4 separate regions of the Homo sapiens genome follow, and all the other regions are linked to region 4. The links are contacts of gene promoters, found by promoter capture Hi-C in blood cells and fetal thymus (Javierre and others, 2016). All regions are on one chromosome and are shown on one strand. The core of a region is centred on a gene start or on the middle of the fragment in contact, and the rest is flanking DNA. Distances in the headings are between cores, read along the strand shown. Region 1 overlaps CEP57 (centrosomal protein 57). Region 2 overlaps FAM76B (family with sequence similarity 76 member B). Region 3 overlaps JRKL (JRK like). Region 4 holds the start of TAF1D (TATA-box binding protein associated factor, RNA polymerase I subunit D).

Region 1 (2,700 bases), core at 131-2,630, 2.1 Mb after region 4:
TGCTCAGCTGACTACAAATTATGGGATTCCTGCAGCTTTCCAAGAACGGCTCACAGTACTCAGGAAAGACTGTTCTTAAGCAATTTCAGTTTTATAAAGGACACAACTCAGAAACAGCCAAATGGAGGAGACATAGGGCAAGGTGTGAAAGGGCTTCTGTATCCTCTGGTGCAGCACCTTCCCAGCATATCAGTATGTTCAACAATCTAGAAGCTCCCCAAACCTCATTATTCAAGAGTTTTCATTGAGCTTTCATTACATAAATACATAATTGAGTAAATTATTGTCCGCTGGTCACTGGGCTCAATCTGTCCCTTACCTCCCCTAAGGTCAGGGCCTAGGGCTGAAATTTGTGACTCTTCCCCCCCACCCCACCCCCCTCCCAACACACACACACACAGACGGAGTCTCACTCTCTTGCCTAGGCTGTAGTGCAGTGGCCCAATCTTGGCTCACCACAACCTCCACCTCCTGGGTTCAAGTGATTCTCCTGCCTTGGCTTCCTGAGTAGTTGGGATTACAGGGCACACCCCCACACTTGACTAATTTCTTTGTATTTTAGTTAGAGACAGAGTTTCACCATGTTGGCCAGGCTGGTCTCGAACTCCTGACCTCAAGTGATCCGCCCAGCTCGGCCTCCCAAAGTGCTGGGATTACAGGCATGAGCCACCATGCCTGGCTGAAATCTGTAGCTCTTTATAATCTAGTGGTTGGTTTTTCTGGCAACCAGCTTCCAGAAGATGCCTTCAAACCTGAAGCTACCTAGGTGCCCTACCTTGAGTCCCTTCATCAGCCTAACAAGGATACCCTATCACTTAAGAAATTCTAGGAGTTTTTGAATCTGTATCTGAAACCAAGGACAAAAGACTAAATATATTTTTTATTATACCACAGGGCATACAGATAATAAAAATGTATATGTCATGAGGAGTGATATAAAATAGTAAAGGGCAAGCCCACTAACATACAAAATGTAGAACAGAGGTAGTTCCATTTGGGGAACTAGTTTGTTAGTTAATCACATAGTTAATGGGATTCCCCTGACTGGGCAGAGGGTGGTCGGCAAGTCACTTAATATTTTTGAATATTAAATGATAGGATTCTGGTGGGTTGTAAATAACCAATGAAAACTTGAGGTTCTCTGTGACATTTAAAATTAAGCTATGCAGTAATTGAGGATGCTTTGCAAGACCTTTGACAATATTATAAAGAATTGAAAACTCATCCTATTTTCCAGTTACCTGTAAAACCAGATGCCAATTTGCCATTAAGTTTGGAAAATGACAAATACTAGTCTTTGTTATATATGAACATACTATAGTAGACTTAGCACTTATTTATTTGAGTACCACTTTTAAGACTTGGCCCTACCCTCCTAAGCTCTTTGTCCCCACTTTTGATTGTCATAGCCATAGTGTGTTTTATATTTATATAAATAGAAAATGTTTTATATTTGCTTTCTTAAATCACCTGGAAATTTGCATGATTTTTAACATGGAAGTAAAATCTTTAATTTTAAATAAGATTTAAATACAGTGCAGGTATTTCGATAGCCTTTGTTTCAGGAGATTGTTTACTGTTTTAAATATTCATTGTGCTCTTGTACTTTTATGAACACGGATTATTCTGGTAAATGTAAATCTTCAAAGGTAAGAATTGAAAAACATAGTTTGCTGTGGCCGTTTGAGGAAGGAAAGTGGATGAACATTTTGAATAGCTGGTAGTCATATCTTCCACCTTAGCCCTCAGCTTCTTAGTTACTTCCCCCAGTCTAGGACCATCTGTCAGTAGGAAGTCGCCTACAACAAATAAAACTCCACAGTTAGCATCTCCTGGGTTGAAATTATTATGTGGAATCCTAAATTTAACAGAATCTCATTCATGACAGAATGGTGTACTGTGGAAATAAAGTTTTATGTTTGAGTGTTTGATGGGCCTTAATGTTTTCTAATTATTTTCTTTTTTGTTAATTAAATGTAAAGTATTTGAGGCAAGGACAGTGCCTTATTTTCTTTCTGGAGTTTTGAATACTATAAATATTCAAGTAGTAGTTTGTGGATGGGGAATAGAGTAATTCAGTCATTTGTAGCAGTTTCTGGTCCTGTAAAAATAATGTTTTTATTTTTCTGAACGTATATTTCACAGTATATATTTTTAACTGCGGTATTTACATTCATTGTATCATTTAAGTATTTCTGCACAGCATTTGTATTCAAGTTGTATGAACATTATTTTCTTCTTGTGTCTGGCATATGGCTATATTCAGACTAATATGAAACACTTTAAAAGTTGTATTTCTTTAATGATTGAATTGTATTGTTTCTAGTCAGTGGATTTTTTCTGTTGTCTGTATGGACAGTCAATCTCAGTCATAAATATTTGTGATTTAAATCTGCTATTTGTGGTTCACACTTTTGAAAGGTAATTTGTGTCTTTATTTTTTAGAACAGCTTTGCTGAGCCATCAAGGTCTAATGGAAGCATGGTTCGGCATTCTTCATCTCCATATGTAGTATATCCTTCGGATAAGCCTTTCCTTAATAGTGATCTACGACGCTCCCCAAGTAAGCCTACACTTGCCTATCCAGAAAGCAACAGCAGAGGTAATCGAGCCTAACGAAATAAATGTTATTTGTGTTTTCTTGCTGCTTTAAAATTCTTAACTTTGTCCTCCATTATTTTGCCATTAGAGGAAAATATA
Region 2 (2,700 bases), core at 123-2,622, 2.0 Mb after region 4:
CAGTGGTTATTAATAACTAAGGTGGTAACGAAAAACTTCAATTTCAAATTCAGTATCAATTTCAAATTTTGAGTCTGCAAATTTGACTCAAAAAGATCTCCACTAGATCTGTTAAGTTATATTTATCTAAAAATGTTTATACTGATACAAAATAGTTAAAATGTGAATCTCCAAGTTCTTATCTCAATTATCAAGAAATAAAGTGTTTATAATTTTCATATTTTAAGTACAAAATACAATAATTTGAACATTAGGTCTTCAAAGCAATTTTTCCATTTAATGCTTTGGTAGCTAATTTCCAATTTGCTTTTAATATATTTATATCACTAATAAAGATATTTCTTAATAAATTACATAAGACAAAAGTCTTTATGGTAAATAAATAACACAATTGTTAAGTACAAGTCCAAATTATTCTAATTTGAATACTTTAAAAATGAATTTTATGCCATATTTCAATATATGTACATTTAAATTGTTTTATCCTAAAATTACTTCATTTTGCAGCCAGCCAAAAAAAAAAAAAAAAATCAATGAAATTCTTTACAGACTCTTAAGAAAGCTAAGTTTTAAAGTTTAGACATGTTGGTGCAAAGGAAAGAATATCAGGATTAAGAATTACATAGATCCTGCTTTAAATCCTGGCTTACTTACCAGCTACATAACCTGGAGCATATTTTCTCATTTGTAACACAAACTCCACCATCCGAACTCAAAATGAGTTGAAGGAACTTATCAAATATATAAAACACTTAGCCTAACACAGTTCCTGGTACACAGAAGGCACTCAAATGTTAGGTCCCTTTTCCTTTTAACCACTTACCTAATTAAGTGAATAAGAGTTTTAACTTGATATTCTTAGTATTTTCAATATTTGGGGTATTTTGGGGTGACATTTTGAACAATTTTTTCATGTGATGTTCAGTGTTTTGTCGTAGGTTTGGCAGTTAAAAATATTTTACTAGCTATTAGAGCAAGATCCATCTTGTGTCACAGGATTCAATTCCTTATTACATAAAGATAAAAAAAAAATTACCGGTTTCCTCACCTCAGTAAAGAATCCTACTAGTATCACTTGGTTGCTAAAGGAAGTGAGGTAAAAAGATGGCACTCAGCTATGACAGATTGTCTCTAGCCATAACACAAAAAAATCAGGGAAGTGGCCTGATAGGAAGGATGAAATAGAAAACCTGAGGAACCTGAAGTGGTGGGAACTAGTGTAGGACAGGGAAAAGTATAGATAAACTGGAGTGAGAAGACAGAGATTTCTACGTCACCGCTTACTGTGTGATCACAGTTTCCTCTGTAAAATGGGCATATCACATAACCCAGTTTTTGCAACAAGTAAGACAGCATATGTAAAATCATGTCAAAATGTCCTATTTAAATATTGGTTACTTTTATACTACATGAAACTTCAATTACCAAGAGGAGGTAGGCCTAAGATATCTATCAGGCTAAGTCAAAGATGACCCCATGTATTTGCAACTATGATTTTAAAAAAGAAAAACCAACACACAAACTGCTCTTTTGAACAGTGGGGAGCACTAAGTTAAAACATATCTGAGCACCTATTGCAGTTATTCTGTTATCTCATTCTGGATTTACTTCAGAGCTTTGGTTACATTACATTAAATCAAAGATCACCAGGTGGAAGATTTTGTTCCAGGTAATCATTCAGCATTAATAACTGAGTAAGAAAAACAGGAATAACATAAAATTAAAAATAATACTTGCTGGTGGATAAAAACATTGACTAATATATAAGAATCTGATATATGATACGGGCAATCTCTCAGAACAGAGGGCTGATGGGCATTTCCATAAATCACCACCTAGTCAACAAATTATTTGAATGCCTACTATGTCTCAGGTTCTACATGAGGTTCCTTTTTCAACAGTCTTTGTAATAGTATGATAGGGATTAAGACCAGATAATCTGTACCTCGAATTTGAGCAAGTTCCTAAATCCTACTAATTTAAGCTACTTGCAAAGAAGTATGAATAATACAAAACCAAAAGAAAGAAATAGCAAATATCCTTTGGTGTTACAATGTGAAAAAAAAAAAACAAAATGAAACAGGACAGTATTAACTCCTTCCTTCTGAAGCTGTACTCTCCCAAGTCTGACGTCTGTGTGCTGCCATCTTCCATTAACATTTAAAACTTCTTTCACCTTAAAAATTTTGTTACTAAAGACTAATTTTACAAATGTGAGACTGTATAAATCAAAGAGAACATGTAATTAATTTAGTGTGGTCTGATTTCTAAATGTATGAAACCTAGAAGAGAAGCAGCTTAATATGGTAGCATTCTGTATCCATGTTGGATGTTCACCATCTCTGCATGCCAGACATCAGATTATTACTGTGGTGACTCTTGACTTTACCATTCAGTTGTTCTGTATACTTAAACTGCTACTTTGCAGTACTCTGAGGTTCAGGTGGATCACTACCTGTTAGCATTTAGCAGAACCCTATTTGGCACTTTGCGAACCACTGTACACAGGTTAAGTAAACTCTCTTGCTTTGCACACATTTTTGCCACTCCAGGTCCTTAAGAATTGGTTTTATACACCCATCTCCTTTCCCATTATCTGGAAGGAAATATTAATGTGAGGAATGATTGCTACTGAAGACCTGCTTTTCACCTTAGTTTCATTAATCTGATTTTTAATTTTTTGCTATAAGCCCAATAATT
Region 3 (2,700 bases), core at 58-2,557, 2.7 Mb after region 4:
TTCCCTTAATTTTCTAGTGAAAGTTAGAGATAACTGAACAGACTGAAGCACTTTTCTGAAATCTTTTGCTTGATTTATGAAGGCTGCCATAGTTATCTTTTCTTGTGTTAACCATCTTAAATGATGTTTTGTATATTTTAATAGACTGATAGGATGAGAAAGATTTATATTATTAGATTTCAGGATGATTTATAATAATTCAAAAATGAAATTCAATAATGGGGAAATAATTATGAATTATAGAAATTATGCCTTCATTCTCTTACATTTGTGTGGGTTGCAAGAGGGGGAGATTATTCTGGAAATGAAGTAAATATGGGAAGTTATTGCCAAATGAGAGAGAAACTATGGGAAAGCTGATCTATAAAGAGGCATTCTGATCAATTCATTTGTAGGAAACTGGGAAATAAAAACCTGGGGAACTTTAGGTTATTTATACAAAGGGAATAAATAGGCTGATTTTAATTTGGTAAGTTGATCTTTTTATTATGAATTTGGTAATAGTATAGGTTTATTATTTATTCATCTAATTTTATAGTACAGGTTTTGTAATGTTACATGTGATGATATGAGCTCCCACCTTATATGGGGGAACATCTTGGGAATTTGAGATTTAATAAGTTTTTTTTTTTTTTTTTTTAGTGTTTTTACTGCATACTCACAAATGTTGTCTATAATTTGAAAAATATTGTCATATCTGGCCCTTTGATGAGAAAAGGAAATTACAATAATAAAGTTTTATGATTTTAAATAAGTCATATGTTTGTATCCTGTTTTATGAAGAAAGCAGAAATAATTACTGAAAGTGCCAGACACTAAGGAATATTATTGTTTATTATTTTAATACATATAAAAAGGGATTAATCTGCTAAAATGTAATCTAAATCAGAATTTTGATAAATTTTTTTTGTAAACTAAGTATGTTTATTCAAGACATTGAAACTACTTTGCACATATGAATATTAATGTAACTTGTAATTTAAAAGTAAAGTGTTTCCATGCTATTTCATGTTTTGGCCAAAAATTTTTAAAAAATAAATTACAATTGTTCTCTATTAGTCATTTTTTAAAGGTTTAACTTTTTTTGTTGAAATACGTAACATTTTATAGTGCTTTCTGTAGAATACTAAAACTTCAAAAGTATTTTTAGTTTTCCATAATTTCTCTTATTTTCATGATAGGTGTATGTCTATATTTTTCAGAAGATGTGTGATGAAAGTGTTTAAAAATAGTGTTTATTGCATGAATTTCCTCAGTGTAGAGTGTGAAAAACCATCAGAAGTTAACATACATATTGAATCAGATAATGACACGTTCTGCTATAAAGTAAGCTGTACATAAAATAATTTTTCTAAAATGAAAATATGTACTACAGATCTTGGAATTTCTGTCTGGATTTGCACAGTTTTTAAAATTAATCATGTCAGCCCAATGCAGCTGTGTCATTGCCACCTAGTGGTAAAACTAACATTACTGTTAAGCTGTGTGATTTTAAACTTGAATCCCCAGTAAAAGGTTCACTGTTCTGTGGCCATAAGTGTGAATCTTGTGACTCTTTCTCTAGCCTGTAAGAGACTGCTCTTCTTTGGTTTACAGCTATTCTCTGAAATCTGCCAACACTGGTACTCTAGCCCTGTTTTGGATCCTTCTATCCTTAATTATAAAGGCTGATCAGTAGTTGTAGCAGTTGAAGCCAAAAGCTATTTGGGTTCTGTATCTGCCCCCAAAGTTGTATATCCTTAGCTCCTAATTCCTATTCTATCAGTGCCTTACCAGAGGCTGTGTTTGGCATTCTATTTATCTATTTAAAAATTTGCCATTGGCTTATGTTCTCTCACCAGTTTCATGAATTTTTTTCTCATTGATATGCCTTGACACAATACTCTCAGAAAGCCAATAACAGTGCAATGTTTCTTACACTTCCAGTAGTCAAGAATTTTGTGAGAGCAGATATACCTAATACAAGATCATGTAGGAAATTATAATGTTGCTTTTTTTTCTGAGAGATTTGGGCTTTTTTGTGGCGAGGGGGTTGTAGAAAGTTGAATTCTTTGTCATGATGAAATCCAGTAAATTAAAAATTTATTGAGTTTTACTGTATGTCGAAGACTGCCAGCTGTGGTGGGTTTAGGAAAATATGAAAGAAAGGGAAGAGGTTGCTTTCCTTGAACATCTTGAAATCAAGGTGGAAAAACTATACATGTTTGAAAAAAAAAAAAACCCCAAAACCATCTGCCTCAATTGTAAGCTCATATAAAAGAACCAACATAACAAGATGTGAGCTATGTAAAAAAACCATCAAGATTTAGTTGCTTATTCATTTCTCCTCTGATTTCTATTCTGTATACCCTTTACATTCTAAGCTATGCATTGGTCTTGATTTTTGCTGCTCCTGAGTGACTTCATCCTTTTCCCTTATCTGCATGTGATCCAGTCACCCTGTCTGGCTCTATGATTTATATATTCAATTGAGAAATTGGACTTAGTCTAGAAGGGAAATTAAAATTAATGCTTTGCTTCCCATCCATAGTGAACTCTCCATTAGCATCATAATGTCAGAGCCACCCAGATGGGTTAAGAAGTTCAAATAATTATTTAACTCAGTTGTTGACATCTCTACTCATATCAAAATTATTATACCTCCTTATGCCACTCATAAGTGTCAAAATACAGCTCAGCTGCCTTGGTCTGAAGTAGCAA
Region 4 (2,700 bases), core at 45-2,544:
GGTAGGTGGAATACCTGAGCCTGGGAGGTGGAGCTTGTATGTAGTGAGCCTCAGCAACACAAGGAGACCCTTGTCTCTACAAAAAATTCTTAAAATACTGGCTAGGTGTGTTGGCCCGTGCCTTTGCTCCCAGCCACTCGGGAGGATCGCTTAAGCCGCGGTGGAGGTTGCTGTTAGCCGAGATTGCACCACTGCACTCCAGCCTGGACGACAGAGCAAGACCCTGTCTCAGGAAAAAAAAAAAAAAAAAAAAAAAAAAAAAAAAAGGCATGGCAACAAAAATTAAAGATAACTACTTATTTCATTATTGTACATGCCTTAGTCAATCTCTTGTCTCATTCTGTAGCTTCTTGGGACCTGACATGAGTCATTACATATAAATCCTAGGATGAACTAGCAAAATATTTAAAATATGAAACGATAAGGTCACCAAGAGCTCAGATTTGTTAAATGCCCCCTGTGGTATTTTCCTGGTACAAGGTCTTACTAGTTTTTTTAAGTACAAGATTCTACAAAGTCATTAAATATCGAATGCTCAAAAACGGAATTCAACAAAAATTTGCCCCCATGCTTTAACGGTATACCTGTAGTTAATTTTTTTTAAAAGTAGGGATTATCAAAATAAAGCTAGCTCAATAATCACTTTTTCGAAGTGTTTAGAAGACACTCCTACTTGGGTGTCGATGCCTCCGTGGGGATTCTGCAATTCTTAGAGGCCACGTGGGCAGAGAGCGGCGCTTTACCCGGAGCTAACGCTGTGACCACCAGCGCCTCTCACCCGGCAGCGCCTAACCTGCAGAAAACCGGCGCGAGTAATGGGTACCTCACATACGAAGGTTAAATCATTTAAATCACGTAATAAGGTTAAACTTGTCCGCAACACGATTTAACACCTCCATCTCAAGATATAATGAAGCCCGTCCACACTACAACCACGTTTGTGTGGGACTCATACCAGCCGCGTGGCGCGGAGTGGCCTGCGGCCGTGATCCCTTCACCCTCTCGGACCGACTTCGGAGTCTCGATCCTCCGGACCAACGAAGGGGCCCCGGGAAACCCCAGATATGCAACGCCTCCCCCGCCCGCCAGGCCCGGACGGCCTCGCCCTCTTAGCAACCTACCTAAAACGGCCTCGCAGTGGCCCCAACCGCGCACTTGCTGCTTGTAACCCAGGCCTCGGCCCAAAACCCGCGACTGGCCTGGTGTCCTAGAGCTCTGTACACACCACCCTCCCGACCTCAGCCCTCCAACTCCCGATAACCAGCCGACCTCCTCCAACCGTGCGGAAGAAAAGGGTTGGCTATTTCCGTGGCCCAAGTAATAGTCAGGCCGAAATCTCGCGATACAACTTAGCTTCCGGGAAGAAGGCGAGCGGTGGGAGGAGACGCGACGTGGGGGCGCCATTTTTCTCGCCGCGCAGGGAGGACTGACTAACGTGGGCGGAGCTCTAGCTCGCGTATTCTGAGGAGGCGGGGTTGGCCTAGGCGAAGATCCGGACTCTGGGTGTTTTGCTACCGTGACCGTTTAGGTGAGTGGAATAGCCAAGAACATTTCGGCAAATAACAAAAACAAAACGTGCGGTCACTTGTGAGTGGATGAGAACTGTGAGGAAACAGCCTCTCAGCCCGGTTCGTTTCCGGTGGTCTCGCGTTTGCTGAGCTGTCGCCTGGCTTTCTAAATCTGGTCCCGGGTGTGTGGCGAGGGTGACGGGTGGGATGTGTGCCTGAGTGTTTTGTAATCCTTTGTCTATTTCTGCCTTCAGAAACCCTTGTGTGTTAAAATATTGGAGAAGGCTCATTCTTTGACCATGACTCGAAGTGTGTAACCTTTGTGCTGGACGCCAGTGTTATTCCATAGCACGCCCAGGTCTCCTCCCCACTTTTGCACCTGTTTCGTAAGCTCACCCTTTCTGCCTCCCAGGAGTTGGCTAACATGTCACAAGTGAGACCTGTGGAGGATTTGTTTTTCCTAAGTTTCCTCCTACATCCCCCCTGCCCCACACCATTAGTTCCTTGACCGGTTCCTGAGTTAAGATTAAACAGTGTAAACTAGTTTAGTTTTGGTGGGGTTTTTTTCTCCCAAAGTAATTTTTTTTTTTTTGAGACCGAGTTTCGCTCTTGTTGCCCAGGCTGGAGTGCAACGGTGCGATCTTGGCTCACCGCAACATCTGCTTCCCGGGTTCAAGCGATTCTCCTGCCTCAGTCTCCCCAGTAGCTGAGATTACAGGCGTGCGCCACCATGCCCAGCTAATTTTTGCATTTTTAGTAGAGGCGGGGGTTTCTCCATGTTGGTCAGGCTGGTCTCAAACTCCCGACCTCAGGTGATCCTCCCGCCTCGGCCTCCCAAAGTAATTTTAAAAAGGAATGAACTGGTTTGATTTTTCCGCTTTCAAAATTCTGTTTTCATATGATAAACCACAAAAATCAGTAAAGCTGTCTAGTCTTATTTTATAGTTCACATTTTAGGATTGAACGGGCCTTAAAAGTAATCTGGTCTCTTTACCTGCTTTGCTCCATAGTTTGGACAATTCCGGGGATAAAAAGTCCGATCCTTTAGGCAGCCCACTGCATTTGATCCACAGGGTCTGGGCAATGACGAAGCTCCAGGACTGGTATGGCATGTCCCTCACTGCCGTATTCAGCAGCAAGCCTAGCTGTGTAATTTGTGAGGCTCAATGCAAAATGAAAATGCAGCGTCCCT

What was found. The method cuts DNA at HindIII sites, captures the fragments that hold promoters and counts their contacts. A CHiCAGO score of 5 or more calls a contact.
Region 1: a fragment that was not itself captured here is called in contact with the fragment with the promoter of TAF1D in region 4 in 1 of 17 cell types (total CD8 T cells); the score reaches 7.3 in total CD8 T cells.
Region 2: a contact is called between a fragment that was not itself captured here and the fragment with the promoter of TAF1D in region 4, in 1 of 17 cell types (total CD8 T cells). The highest score is 7.5, in total CD8 T cells.
Region 3: a fragment that was not itself captured here is called in contact with the fragment with the promoter of TAF1D in region 4 in 2 of 17 cell types (non-activated CD4 T cells and total CD8 T cells); the score reaches 10.4 in non-activated CD4 T cells.

Annotation. Positions count from the first base shown.
Region 1 is chr11:95,796,787-95,799,486 of GRCh38, forward strand. CEP57 (centrosomal protein 57) reads left to right here. Exons shown (of 11, transcript NM_014679.5): 2 at 2,446-2,602. Among named protein-coding and RNA genes, the nearest start is that of CEP57, 7.6 kb to the left of the region's middle. The HindIII fragment of the contact is 3,381 bases long and covers 1-2,700 here.
Region 2 is chr11:95,772,946-95,775,645 of GRCh38, forward strand. The region is part of intron 9 of FAM76B (family with sequence similarity 76 member B); the gene reads right to left. Among named protein-coding and RNA genes, the nearest start is that of FAM76B, 15 kb to the right of the region's middle. The HindIII fragment of the contact is 4,010 bases long and covers 1-2,700 here.
Region 3 is chr11:96,392,504-96,395,203 of GRCh38, forward strand. JRKL (JRK like) reads left to right here. Exons shown (of 2, transcript NM_001261833.2): 2 at 1-1,058. Among named protein-coding and RNA genes, the nearest start is that of JRKL, 3.8 kb to the left of the region's middle. The HindIII fragment of the contact is 6,237 bases long and covers 1-2,700 here.
Region 4 is chr11:93,740,201-93,742,900 of GRCh38, forward strand. It overlaps TAF1D (TATA-box binding protein associated factor, RNA polymerase I subunit D), which reads right to left and starts at 1,295. Exons shown (of 6, transcript NM_024116.4): 1 at 1,122-1,295. C11orf54 (chromosome 11 open reading frame 54) reads left to right here and starts at 1,472. Exons shown (of 9, transcript NM_001286069.2): 1 at 1,472-1,528. RefSeq lists enhancers at 955-1,464, 1,593-2,278, 2,045-2,164, 2,685-2,700. The HindIII fragment of the contact is 24,379 bases long and covers 1-2,700 here.